3 separate regions of the Homo sapiens genome follow, and regions 1 and 3 are each linked to region 2. The links are contacts of gene promoters, found by promoter capture Hi-C in blood cells and fetal thymus (Javierre and others, 2016). All regions are on one chromosome and are shown on one strand. Each heading gives the region's core, a stretch centred on a gene start or on the middle of the fragment in contact. The rest is flanking DNA. Distances are from core to core; before and after follow the strand shown.

Evidence for each region. The method cuts DNA at HindIII sites, captures the fragments that hold promoters and counts their contacts. A CHiCAGO score of 5 or more calls a contact.
Region 1: a contact is called between a fragment that was not itself captured here and the fragment with the promoter of KCNJ4 in region 2, in 1 of 17 cell types (M1 macrophages). The highest score is 7.2, in M1 macrophages.
Region 3: a contact is called between a fragment that was not itself captured here and the fragment with the promoter of KCNJ4 in region 2, in 7 of 17 cell types (M1 macrophages, M0 macrophages, M2 macrophages and 4 more). The highest score is 10.2, in M1 macrophages.

The regions. Positions count from the first base shown.
Region 1 is chr22:38,617,755-38,621,615 of GRCh38, forward strand. It overlaps FAM227A (family with sequence similarity 227 member A), which reads right to left. Exons shown (of 17, transcript NM_001013647.2): 11 at 2,458-2,537. Among named protein-coding and RNA genes, the nearest start is that of FAM227A, 37 kb to the right of the region's middle. The HindIII fragment of the contact is 1,279 bases long and covers 1,132-2,410 here.
Region 2 is chr22:38,452,954-38,456,932 of GRCh38, forward strand. It overlaps KCNJ4 (potassium inwardly rectifying channel subfamily J member 4), which reads right to left and starts at 2,246. Exons shown (of 2, transcript NM_152868.3): 1 at 2,027-2,246. RefSeq lists an enhancer at 1-142. The HindIII fragment of the contact is 17,538 bases long and covers 1-3,979 here.
Region 3 is chr22:38,583,939-38,588,225 of GRCh38, forward strand. It overlaps FAM227A (family with sequence similarity 227 member A), which reads right to left. Exons shown (of 17, transcript NM_001013647.2): 17 at 1-2,261. The coding sequence ends at 2,187. Among named protein-coding and RNA genes, the nearest start is that of DMC1, 16 kb to the left of the region's middle. RefSeq lists a silencer at 1,673-1,873. The HindIII fragment of the contact is 1,879 bases long and covers 1,619-3,497 here.

The DNA of each region.
Region 1 (3,861 bases), core at 521-3,020, 160 kb after region 2:
TCAGGAGGCTAAAGTAGGAGGATTGCTTGAGCTAGGAGTTCAAGACCAGCCTGGGCAACATAGCAAGACTTCTCTATTAAAAATTCATGGTGACATGTTCCAGCTACTCAGGAGGTTGAGGCAGTAGGATTACTTGAATCCAGGAGGACGCCACAGCACTCTGGCCTGGGCAACAGAGTGAGACCCTGTCTCTAAAAGAATAAACCAATTAAAAAAAAGATTAGCAGGGGAAACAGCCATGATCAGAGTAATAACCAAATAATTACATGAGTGCTCTGAAGGAAAGGGACATTGGCCTGTATAATAAGGAACATCATCCAGCCCAGAGGGGCAGAAAGCTGACCCTGAGGATGAGAGTGAAGGGGGTTAGAATCTGCCATCCCAAAATAGGCCACTTTGCATAGGAATTATTTTGAGCTGAAGGCAATTGAAAAACAGCAGATGCAGGAAATCTCTTTACAATTCCAGTTTCCATCTAAAAGCAGAGCATAAATTTTCCTTTGTGAAGGTGTCCCCACTTCCCATCTCCAGTACCAGGAAGAAGAGACAACTCATCACTGGAGATGGCACCCCTTGAATCTGCATATAGAAATCTTATTGAAAGAATCCTTATCTTCCATTAGTTTCTCCCATATATTTACCTTCCCACAATTTACCATCCCCAGAAGCCTAAACCTCTTTTCCTTTGTCTTGTCACATCTCCACAATTAATTGCTCTTTGTTAGGGTGGTATGTGAACTATCAGACCTAGCCACTTCCTTGAGGTTTTCGCTTTCTTCCAATGAAGTCCTGTGTCATGTAAAAATACTAACATCAAATAAAATTTGAATGCCTTTCTCCTGTTAAACTGTCTATCTTTTGTCAGTTTAACTTGTAGGGCTCCATACACTTTGCCTCAGAGGGTAGATAAAAGGTTTTTTTCCCTCCCTACAAGAATCTGAACTGAGATGGAAGGATGACTATATATCTCCTAGACCAGGGGTTAGCAAACTTTTTCTGCAAAAAGCCAGATGATAAATATTCGGCTTTGCAGGTCCTAAAGTCTCTATCGCAAGTACTCAACTCTGCTGTTTCAGTGTGAAGGTAGTTGTAGACAATAGTAAATGAATGGCCATGGCTGTGTGCCAATAAAGCTTTATTTTCAAAAACAGGCAGTGAAAGGTCTGATTCATAGTTTGCTAAACCCTGCCCTGGGATTTTTTTTTCCAGCTCTTCAGAAAAAAAAAAAAAAAAGCCTTTATTTGTGGCATTTGGTTAACTGCATGCTATCAATGTCTCTGGACTTGGGGGTTGGGAGGAAATGCTGACAGTGACAATGGCAATGGTGATAGGAGCTTACCTGGGACAAGAAGAACAGGAGGTACAGAGGCCACATACAGAAAGGGAGTGTGGTATACAAGGAAATAAAAGAAGTCCCCTGAGGCAGGACCCCTGAGAGCCCAGGAGGTTGGAGAAGGGGTTGAGCCAGATGAGCAAGGCTGTGCAAGTCAGTCTACTAAAGGCCAGAGGAAGCATTCTGGGGTGTGGAGGGTGTCATTTTATTGGCTAGAAGTAGGATCTTATTTATTTATTTATTTATTTATTTTTGAGACAGAGTCTTGCCCTGTTACCCAGGCTGCAGTGCAGTGGTGTGATCTCAGCTCTCTGCAACCTCTGCCTCCCGGGTTCAAGCAATTCTTGTGCCTCAGCCTCCTGAGTAGCTGGGACTACAGGTGCATGGCACCAAGCCTGGCTAATTTTTGTATTTTTAGTAGAGACGAGGTTTCACCATGTGGACCAGACTGGTCTTGGACTCCTGGTCTCAAGTGATCTGCCTGCCTTGGGCTCCCAAAGTATTGGGATTATAGGCGTGAGTCACTGTGCCTGGCCTGGAAGTAGGGTTTTTAGGGTCGGGGGATAGGATAGGGTCAGGTGGTGATGGGATGATGTACTTAGCTTTGCACTTTGAAAAGATGGCCCTAGAAGTATCTGAGAACCTGAGGGAGACCAGTTAGGTGCCTACTGCAGTAGTGATGGGAGCTCAAACTAGGGTGGTGGGAGTGGAAAAGTGAGAAACAGGTGGTTCTGGGAGGTACATCAGAAGGAACATCAATAGGGCAGAGGAGAAAGTACGTATCAGGGATGACTGCTAGGTTTCAGGTTTGCCATGAGGATTAGTGGAGAAAAAAAAATAAGTAAAAGCATCTTGCACTGCAGCCTACACTGAAAACCTGGTTCCTTCCCTCTCTCTTCTCAATCGCTGCATTTCTGTGAATGCCCCTTAGTATGCCACTTAGCCACTTACCCATGGGAGACCTGGAGGCCTCCCAGGGCTCCTCACTTAGAAGATGGAGTGGACCTGGGCAAGGGGTACAGAGATGTGCAACTAACCGGAGGCCACTGATGCTCCAGAAGAACCGAGGGTTCCTGAAGCTTATGGGACTCCAAAGGGGTCCTGGTCCGTGCCTCCCCACTTACCTGAGGGTGGTAGAATTTCCTGCTCTGGGCTGGCTTCTGGGAGAAGGCTCTCTTACCAGCAAACAAAGAAAACTCTCTCCCTATAGAAGGGGAAAAGCTGTTATTAATTCCTCTTGTCATGGGACAATGAAGATTGTAGCCCAGGAGCTTGAGACAGCCTCCTTTCTGGAGACAGTGACACCCACCAGATCTAGGGTCTCTCTGTTGACTCCACCTGCTGGGCAAGTTACCTAACCCTGGTCCTGTTAGACTGTGAACACTATCTCCCTCTAGGGTGAATGCACCAATTAAAGGAAATAATGTATGCACAGGGCCGGCGCGGTGGCTCACGCCTGTAATCCCAGCACTTTGGGAGGCCGAGGCGGGCGGATCACGAGGTCAGGAGATCGAGACCATCCTGGCTAACACGGTGAAACCCTGTCTCTACTAAAAAAAAAAATACAAAAAATCAGCCGGGCATGGTGGCGCGCGCCTGTAGTCCCAGCTACTCGGGAGGCTGAGGCAGGAGAATAGTGTGATCCTGGGAGGTGGAGCTTGCAGTGAGCCGAGATTGCGTCACTGCACTCCAGCCTGGGTGACATAATGAGACTCCGTCTCAAGAAAAAAAAGAAAAAAAAAGTATGCACAGCTCTGTGCATAGGGCAGACACTCAACCCACAGGAAAAAAAGGACTGGTTTCAGAAGAAAAACCAATTCAGAGCTCTGCAAAATTAAAATGCTTAAATGCTTAAGAAACAATCTATCAAACTCATAGCTGTTAAATTTAATATTCATTAAAATGTCATTAAACTCAAGCAATTTATGGGTTAGGTTTTTCTTCACTTTGAAAAAACTCCCTGAGTCGGCCGGGCATGGTGGCTCACGCCTATAATCCCAGCACTTTGGGAGGCCAAGGTGGGTGGATTGCTTGAGCTCAGGAGTTTGAGACCAGCCTGGGCAACATGGTGAAACCCTGTCTCACCCTGTATTTTTGTACTAAAAATACAAAAATTAGCTGGTGTGGTGGAGCATGCCTGTAATCCCAGCTACTTGGGAGGCTGAGGCTCAAGAATCGCTTGAACCTGGAAGGCAGAGGTTGCTGTGAGCCGAGATCACGCCACTGCACTCCAGCCTGGGTGACACAGAAAGACTCTGTCTCAAAAAAAAAAAAAAGAAAGAAAAGAAAAGAAAACAAGAAAAAAAAAAAAACTCCCTGAGTGTGCATGATGACTACAGGGAAATCGTATCTATGAAGGGATCAGGAAATGGAAATGCTTAGAGAGCTAACAGGTAAAAGTGTCTATGTCGGGAGGCTGAGGCAGGAGAATCGCTTGAACCTGGGAGGTGGAGGTTGCAGTGAGCTGAGATTGCGCCATTGCACTCCAGCCTGGGCGACAGAGCAAGACTCCAAAAAACCAAAAAGTG
Region 2 (3,979 bases), core at 996-3,495:
TGTCGCTTACATGTCCTCGTGACTCAGTGGTCCCCGCAGAGGGGCCCCCTCCTCCTCACACCCCCCTTAGCACTCGCCCCCGCCTCCCCCAGATCCACATTAAGAACCAGCCCGCCCTGTAAGCCTACACTGTTCCTCCTCCCCTTCCTTCTTATCCTAAGCTAAGACATCTTCTCACAGCATCTCCCAGAGCTACTTCATTCTCTCTTTCGCAAATGTCTACGAACCTACTATGCTCCAGGCTGGCGCACGCGGCTTTCACAGACCTGACACAGTCTGGAAACTGCTCAACACCCTGATGAAGTCAGTATCATCATACCTATTCTCCAGTTGAAGAAACTGAGGTTCAGAGAGGTCAAGCCACCCACCCAAGGTCACCCAGCAGAAACTCAACCAGCTCTGCCTGGTCACAGCCACTCCAGAGGATTTTCTGAGAGAAGAGCTTTCTTTTCAAGGATAACCCAAAGGGCCATGAGGAATTGTACCCCAGATTCCCCCTCTAATCCTGGACACTCCTCCTTCGTCAGCTATTTCCGCCATATTCCCACTGCCCCACGCCCACCTCCACCCACTAGCTGTTCATCTCTCTTAAGGTAAAGTGAGTCTTTACTCCCATCTCCCCAGTGCTTTCCCCAGCCTGTGAACAGCCCACTGCTCATTGAGCCCAGGGCCCGCCTTGGAGGTCACTGGGGCAGGGAGTGACGTCCCCATGCCACAGATGTGGAAGATGACGGTTGGGAGGAGAGTGACCAGCCCAGGGGGCTGCTCTCCCAGCCACCTGAGCTAATTTCTGGGAGGCTGAATGGAGGACATATGAGACCCACTGCCCAGTGTGGAACACCCCAGAAAGAGTCCCTCCTCCCAGTGAGAATGGAGTGGAATGTTCTAGGCTCAGCCCTTCCAACTCCAGTTGGGATATGGGTCAGTTCAGTGGCCAACAGTCTCTGTTCCCACCATGCTGCACCCATCTCTTACCCCAGCTGCCCTGGTCCACCTTTTGCTCCCCTCAGCACAGGCCAAGCCAGGGCCACAGTGAGGCTCTTGGGCCCCTAAAGTCCTGCTAACTGCCCCCAAAAGGCCTGAAGCCATGGAGGTCATGGGACTGGATGTGGGGGAGAACACACACACACACGGCTCCAACCCTTCTCTGGGCCTCCCTCCCTGAGTTCCCCACTTCCCCCAAACCTGCTGCTGAACATTCTACTGCTCTTGAGGCCCTGCTCTGTCAGCTGGCCAGGCTGCCCTGCCTCTAGCCCGCCGCTCCACCCCACCCAGCTTGCCACCTCCCAACTCCCTGCATCCTGTCCATCCTGAAGCAGGGACACTGGGGGCAGAAATGTGGGTAGGGGGCAGGGAGGCTGACACTGGTGGGGGGACATTTGGCAGGTTGCAGGGGAAGTTCTCCCTGCGGGAGGCTCATTGAGACCTCTCTTGCCTTGGGGTGCTCCCTACACACGGAGGAAAAAGCAGCCTCTGCCTCCCTCCCCAGCCTGTGTCTATCACTGTGAACGTGCAGTGCCTCCTCTACCAATCCCTGCCCCTGCGCCCTGGGGTCGTGTGGCGCCAAGTAGGTGCTCAAAACATGAGAAGTGAGATTTCGTTCTTCAGATCACAGGGCCATTTGCAACGAGGATGCAGCTGGGGAGGCGGAAAGGCGGCATCCCCCACCTTGCCACAAGTCACCTGCCTTGAAGCTCCCCGGCATGACAACTGGGGTGGGTGGAGGCAGGGAAAGGTCATGGCTGGGGCAGGAGGTCAAGACCCCTTCCACCCACCTCTCTCCCCCTTTCCAGGCCACAACCCAGACCGCGACGCTCCCAGACGGACAGACGGACAGAGCCCGCCCGTGGAGCCCGCCCGCTCCCGGGGAGTCACGGGACCGCGCGCGCGGCGCCGGGCAGCCGGGACCCGGCTCCGGATCAGGTGCGGAGCGGGCGGGGCCGGAGCGGCGGGCCCGGGACACACAGACACGCACGCGGCGGGACAAACTGACGGACAGCGCCCGGGGTGGGCGAGCGCGGCTTACCGCTGGGCGGAGGGTCCGACGAGAGTCCGGGAGGCGGCGAGCGGGCGCTACATCCCAAGGCGCGATCCGGCGGGCGGCGTCCCGGGCGCGGAAAGGGGAGTCCCGGCGCCCCCTGCCCGCGAACTCGGCCGGCCGGCCCGCGCTCCCCTCCCCGGCTGCCGCTCGGTCTGCGCGTGGGTCTTGGGGTCTCCGCGCGTCCCGGCCGTCCCGCGCCGCTCCCCGCGGGCCGCCCAACTTTCAGCGCTGCCCCGCGCCGCGCCCTCGGCGCCGCCTCGGCGTCAGCATCGTCGGGCCCGGCCGGGCTCACAGCGCGGGGGTCCGGGGGCCCGGGGCGCCCCGCCGCCCGCGCCCCCCACCCCCGCTGCAGGCGCCCTCCCCGCCGCCGTCCCCCGCTGCGCCCAGCTCCCTCGCTGTCACCCGCTCCTGCTCGCGCGCTCTGCCCCCGGCCCTGCGCTCCACTCCCGGCCCCGCTGCGCTCGGCCCCGGCCCCGCGACCCCTCGGCCTCCCGGCCTGGGGTCGCCCTCCCCGCCCCCGCCGGCCGGGCTCTGTCGCCACCTCCCCGACCGCTCTCGCGTCTCTCTCCTGCCGCCGGGGTCTCCGCCGCGCTCGCGTCCCGGTCCCTCTCCCGGCCTCCCTGCCTCCTGCGGCCCCGCTCGCCCTCTGCCCGCGGGGTCTCCGTCTCCGTCGCGGTCGCCCGCCGGCCTCCCCCCGCCTCCCTCTGCCCGCGCTGCCTCTCTCCCCTGCGCGTCTCTGTCCGTCTCCCTCGCGGCCCCTGTCCTTCTCTGTCTCTCCCCCTCCCACTCTCCGTGCGGCCCCCTCTGTCTCGGACCCCGGCCCCCGCCTTGGCCGCGTCCCCGGCTCGCCCGGGAGCCCGAGCTCCCGCCGCCCGCGGCGCGCCGAGAACTCCCAACTCGCGGCACGCCGCCCCGCTTTGCGAGACTTTCGCCCCTCCTCACACGTGACCCGCGCCCCACTGCGGAGGCCGCGCGCCCCCCAGCCCGGGAGCCCCGGCTGCCCGCGGGACCCCGCCCTGCCCGCCCCTCGGCCTAACCCGGCCTCAAGCCCCCTCCCGCGGGGCCCGCGGCGCGGAGCAGGGGCTGGGGCGGGGGGCTGCTGGCCCCGCTCCTGCCCTGGATCCTGCCCGGGTTTTCCTCCTCGCCCCAGGAGCGCTCCTCCCAGAACCCGTTCCTGGATCCGCTCCCGGGTTTTGTGCCCCCCCCCCAAAAGGGGGCAGGTGGAGAGGGTTCCTCCGAGCCGGGAAGGGGGGTGGGTGGGAGCTGGTCCCTCTGGGGTCCCACGGAGTCCGCCCCTCTCCTTAGCGGTCCTCGTACTCTCCCAAAGTACCGCCGGTCAAGGACCCGAAGCACCTCACTCTGGGAGTCTGAGGGGGCCCTATTGGAGGGACCCTCGCGATCACTCAGTCACCACTGCCCCATTTTACAGATGGCGAGACTGGGTACCAGAGAGGGTCAGAAACTCGGCCAAGGTCACCCAGAGATGACAAAGCCAGGCCAAACCCTAGTCTCTTATTCTCTGTCGCTCTCCATTACCCCAAGCTGTCAGGCCTGGGCCCCACACTCTGGGGTGTCAGGGAACCCCCAGCACCCACAGCACCTGTCTAGCCAGCTACATCCTGACCATCCTGCCACGTCACTCTAGCCCTCCGAGGAGACAGGAGGGAAAGTGCTCCTCCTTCCAGGGTGGTAGGACGAGAGAACACCTGCAGTTAGACAGCCAGCAAAACTTCCCTGGGAGTCTGGCCATCACCGACTAGCCCCATTACAGAGAGGGAGAGACCGAGGCACCCCAAAGCCAGGTGGAGAACTGATGAAATCTGAAATCCCCTCTGGCTCTCCTGAGCCTCGAGGATGTCAGCATAAGAACAGCAACACACAAACCACCACAAGTGTTTCCCTTCCTCGTGGGCTCTCCCTACTCAAAAGGATTCAGTC
Region 3 (4,287 bases), core at 1,308-3,807, 130 kb after region 2:
CTGTTCTAGCACAGACCAGGTCACTGCCTTGTGCCTTGAAGCTCAAATGATAAAACCTATGCCCTTCAGCCCAGCTGCTGGTCCTTTGGCAAACCAACCCCTGTGCCTGTGCCCCTCAGTGAAATATCTTCTGTCCCAAAGGGCTGCTGGCACACTGGCTTCATCTGCCTTGGTTTTTCTCAGATTCCACGCAGCTTTCTATCGGAGCATTAATGCATTTATTGGTTTACACATCCTTCTCTTTTTTCCAGATTGTGAGCCCCATAAGGTCAGGGACTGTGTCTTTATTTATCTCTGTATTCACAGGGCCTAGTGCAGGGATGGTACAGAATAGACATCTAGCAAATACCTAATCATCCCCCCCAAGTCCGTTTCTTCCTAGGAGAAAATGGAGGTAACAATATCCATCTTGGGGGACACCAGGAAGGTTAACTGAGATAATGTCTAAACCAGACTTAGCAGAGCACTCAGCACATACTAAGTACTCAATAAATGACATCACCTATGATTACTATTATTATGTTATACAATATTAGATACTCCAGGCCAGGTGTGGTGGCTCACACTTAGAATCCCAGTGCTTTGGAAGGACAAGGCAGGAGGATTACTTGAAGCCAGGAGTTCGAGACCAGCCTGGGCAACACAGTGAGATCCCATCTCTACAAAAAAATTTCTTTAAAAATTAGCCAGACATGGTGGCATACCTGTAGTCCTAGCTACTTGGGAGGCTGAGGTGGGAGGATTGCTTCAGCCCAGGAATTTGAGGTTGCAGTGAGCTATGACTGCGCCACTGCATTCCAGCCTGGACAACAGACTGAGAGTCTGCCTCTAAAAAATTTAATTTAGTTAAAATTAATTAAAAAAAATTTTTTTTTGAGACAGAGTTTCGCTCTTGTTGCCCAGGCTGGAGTGCAATAGCATGGTCTTGGCTCACTGCAACCTCCGCCACCTGGGTTCCAACGATTCTTCTGCCTCAGCCTCCCGAGTAGCTGGGATTACAGGTGCCCGCCACAACATCCAGCTAATTTTTGTATTTTTAGTAGAGATGGGGTTTCACCATGTTGGCCAGGATGGTCTCGAACTCCTGACCTCGTGATCTGCCCACTTCAGCCTCCCAAAGTGCTGGGATTACAGGTGTGAGCCACCACGCCTGGCCTAATTTAAAATTTTTTAATTAAAAAAATTAATTTACATTTAAATCCTGACTTTTGCTATGGTAGGAATGAACTTTACTATTCCTTGTCTCATGAACTGGGAGTGACTAAATGTGTCCCTAGTTGCAGTATTATTTTTTGTTTTCTTATTTCTATTTTAGATTAAATCAGACAACATGTGCATGCTTTACCTATAAAGTTTCTCTCAATTCTTGGACAAAGATTCACTCAAATGAGCTGGAAGGTGAGAGGTTAAGAAGGCAGAAGCCTGGGAGTCACACAGAAACACATTACAGATGTCATGTCCCTGGGCTGAGTTTAGAAAAGACAAGATGTTTGCCAGGCAGAAAGAGGGCATATTGGAAATAGGCTGGCAATCCCAGTGGTTAGAGGAGCAGGAGGCAAAGGTTCAGAGGCAGCATAATAGAAGCGCCTATCAAATTATCAAATTAATAGTTCCACAAAGCTTGTTACAAAAAATTGCACTCCTCTAGGCCCATTTTCCTTTTCCCTCACAACACTTTTCTCTTTTTCCTCTGTCCAATACTTACAGCATTTAATGTGTTGATACATCTGTCTTCCCTCTACCAGATGGTGACTCCCTTGAGAACAGGGACTGTGTCTTATCTACTGTTAATTACCCAGTGTCTACAGCAGAGAACTTCGGAAACCTTTCTAAACCTGGGCTTGCTGCTGCGTAAAATGCAGTGGATAATCCCTACTTCATACGGCTGGTATGAAAGTTTTACCTTTGTATGAGGTCATATTTGTAACATACTTACCAGCATGCACGTAATAAAATACTGAAAGAGTAAATCTATGAATAAATGTAGTGACCCAAGCACCAACTCTCTACTCCTGCTTTTCACTCAGCCTAGGAAAAACTACAACGGAATCCTTCCCCTATGGAGAAATCATGATTCCTATTTCTGTCTTTGGCCACAATTTTCTTATTTTCTTGTTCCACTCCACCTCGTAGCAGAAATATCACGGATTCTGTAGGCGCTTCCTGGTTCTAGGTTGTGGAGCTCCTCAGGGCTTGGAAGTGAGTGGAAAGAAATGTTCAACTTCTGTTTCTCTTCTCTTTCCCTCTCCTCCTTTCCCCTCCTGTGGGGGAAACAAACGAACAAAAACAAAAATTAATTTAAAAAATGTAATTTCTTCAAAGACTTTGCACGTGAGCAGTGGCGTGGCCAGTGGTGATCCTTGTGTGCATGGAATATTGAGGGCGTGCTCCTGCCTCCAGAGAAAGTGGTCGAGCAGGACAGCTGGCATCCACGGCTTCCACATCCCCAGTGCCTCCATCCTTCATCTTTCACCAGTACTGACAGGAACACTGCTGTGTCGGATCTGAACTGGGCCCCAAAAACCTCTAGGTAGCAGGCAGGTACTACTCCATTGGAGGTGACATCCCTCTGGTGACGCTGAAAACCTGGATTGTGTTTTCTAACTCTGTCTATCTGCTTCACACCTCCAGATGTGAATCTTCAGAATATTATTTGCTGGGCTATGGGATGGAGACTAGTCTCACAAGCCTAAAGGACTTCCTTTAATATTTCACGAAAGCATTACATTTATTTTTTTCTTTCTTTTTTGGGACGGAGTATCGCTCTGTTGCCAGGCTGGAGTGCAGTGGCGCGATCTCAGCTCACTGCAACCTCTGACTCCCGGGTTCAAGTGATTTTCCTGCCTCAGCTTCTCAAGTAGCTGGGATTATAGGCATGCACCACCATGCCCAGCTAATTTGTTTTTTGTATTTTTTTTTTTAGTAGAGACAGGGTTTCACTATGTTGACCAAGATAGTCTCAATCTCCTGACCTCGTGATCCGCCTGCCTTGGCCTCCCAAAGTGCTGAAATTACAGGCATGAGCCACTGTGCCTGGCCTACACTTCTTCTATTTAGGTTCACTGTCCGTATTTGGAAAGAACATGCTACAACTTGAAGGAGAGATCACAAGATATACTAAAAAATATTTTGAAATAAAAACAAAAACATAACACAATAAAACTTATGGAGTGCAGCAAAAGCAGTGCTAAGAGGGAAATTTATAGCCATAAATGCCTATGTTTTAAAAACAAGAAACATCTCAAATCAATAACTTCACTTTATGACTTATGGGCCTAGCAAAAGAAGCACAAACTAAATCTGAAGCTGGTAGAAGGAAGGAGATTAAGATTAGAGCAGAGGACGTGAAATAGAGAATAGAAAAAATAGAAAGTCAATTGAAAGAAACAAAATGTTAGTTATCAACAAAATTAACAAACTTTGAGTTTGAATGACTACCAAGAAAAGGACACACATAGATGAAAGTGAGAACATGATTACCGACCTTACAGAAATAAAGCTTGTAAGAGAATACAAATGCCAATAAATTATATAGCCTATATGAAATGGAAAACTAGAAATACACAAATTACCAAAACTGACTCAAGAAAAAAATAAAAATTCTGCATAGACTTATAACAAATAAAACGATTGAATCAATAATCAAAAATCTCCCTTTGAACAAAGAAAAGTGAAAGACTACAGGGCTTCATTTGTGAATTCTACCAAACCATTAAGGAAGAATTAACACCAATTCTTCTCAAGCTCTTCCAAAAAATAGAAGAGGTAACAGTATTTCATAGCTCATTTTATGGGGCCAGCATTATACTGATACCAGAACTAGACAAAGAAATGACAAGAAAAGAAATTATAGACCACTCTTCCTTAAGAATACAAATGCAGAGATCTTCAACAAATACTAAAATATTAAAAGGATTATACACTAGGAACAAGTGGGATTTATCCCAGGTAGTTCCCCTCAGTGAAACATAAATCGATCAGTGTATAGAGCACAATAAAAGAATGAAGGGAAAACCCTACATAATTATCTCAAATGATGCAGAGAAAGCATTTGACAAGAACCAACAGCATTTCATGATAATAAACAATCAGAAAAATAGGAATAGGATGGAATTACTCCAACATGATTATGGACATTTATGATAAACCCACAGATAACAGCACACTCAATGGTTAAAGACTGAAAGCCTTTCCCTAGGACCAGGGACAGGACAAAATGCCTCCTTTCATGGCTGGTATTCCACTTTGTATCAGAAGCTCTAGACAGATAATTAGGCAAGAAATGAA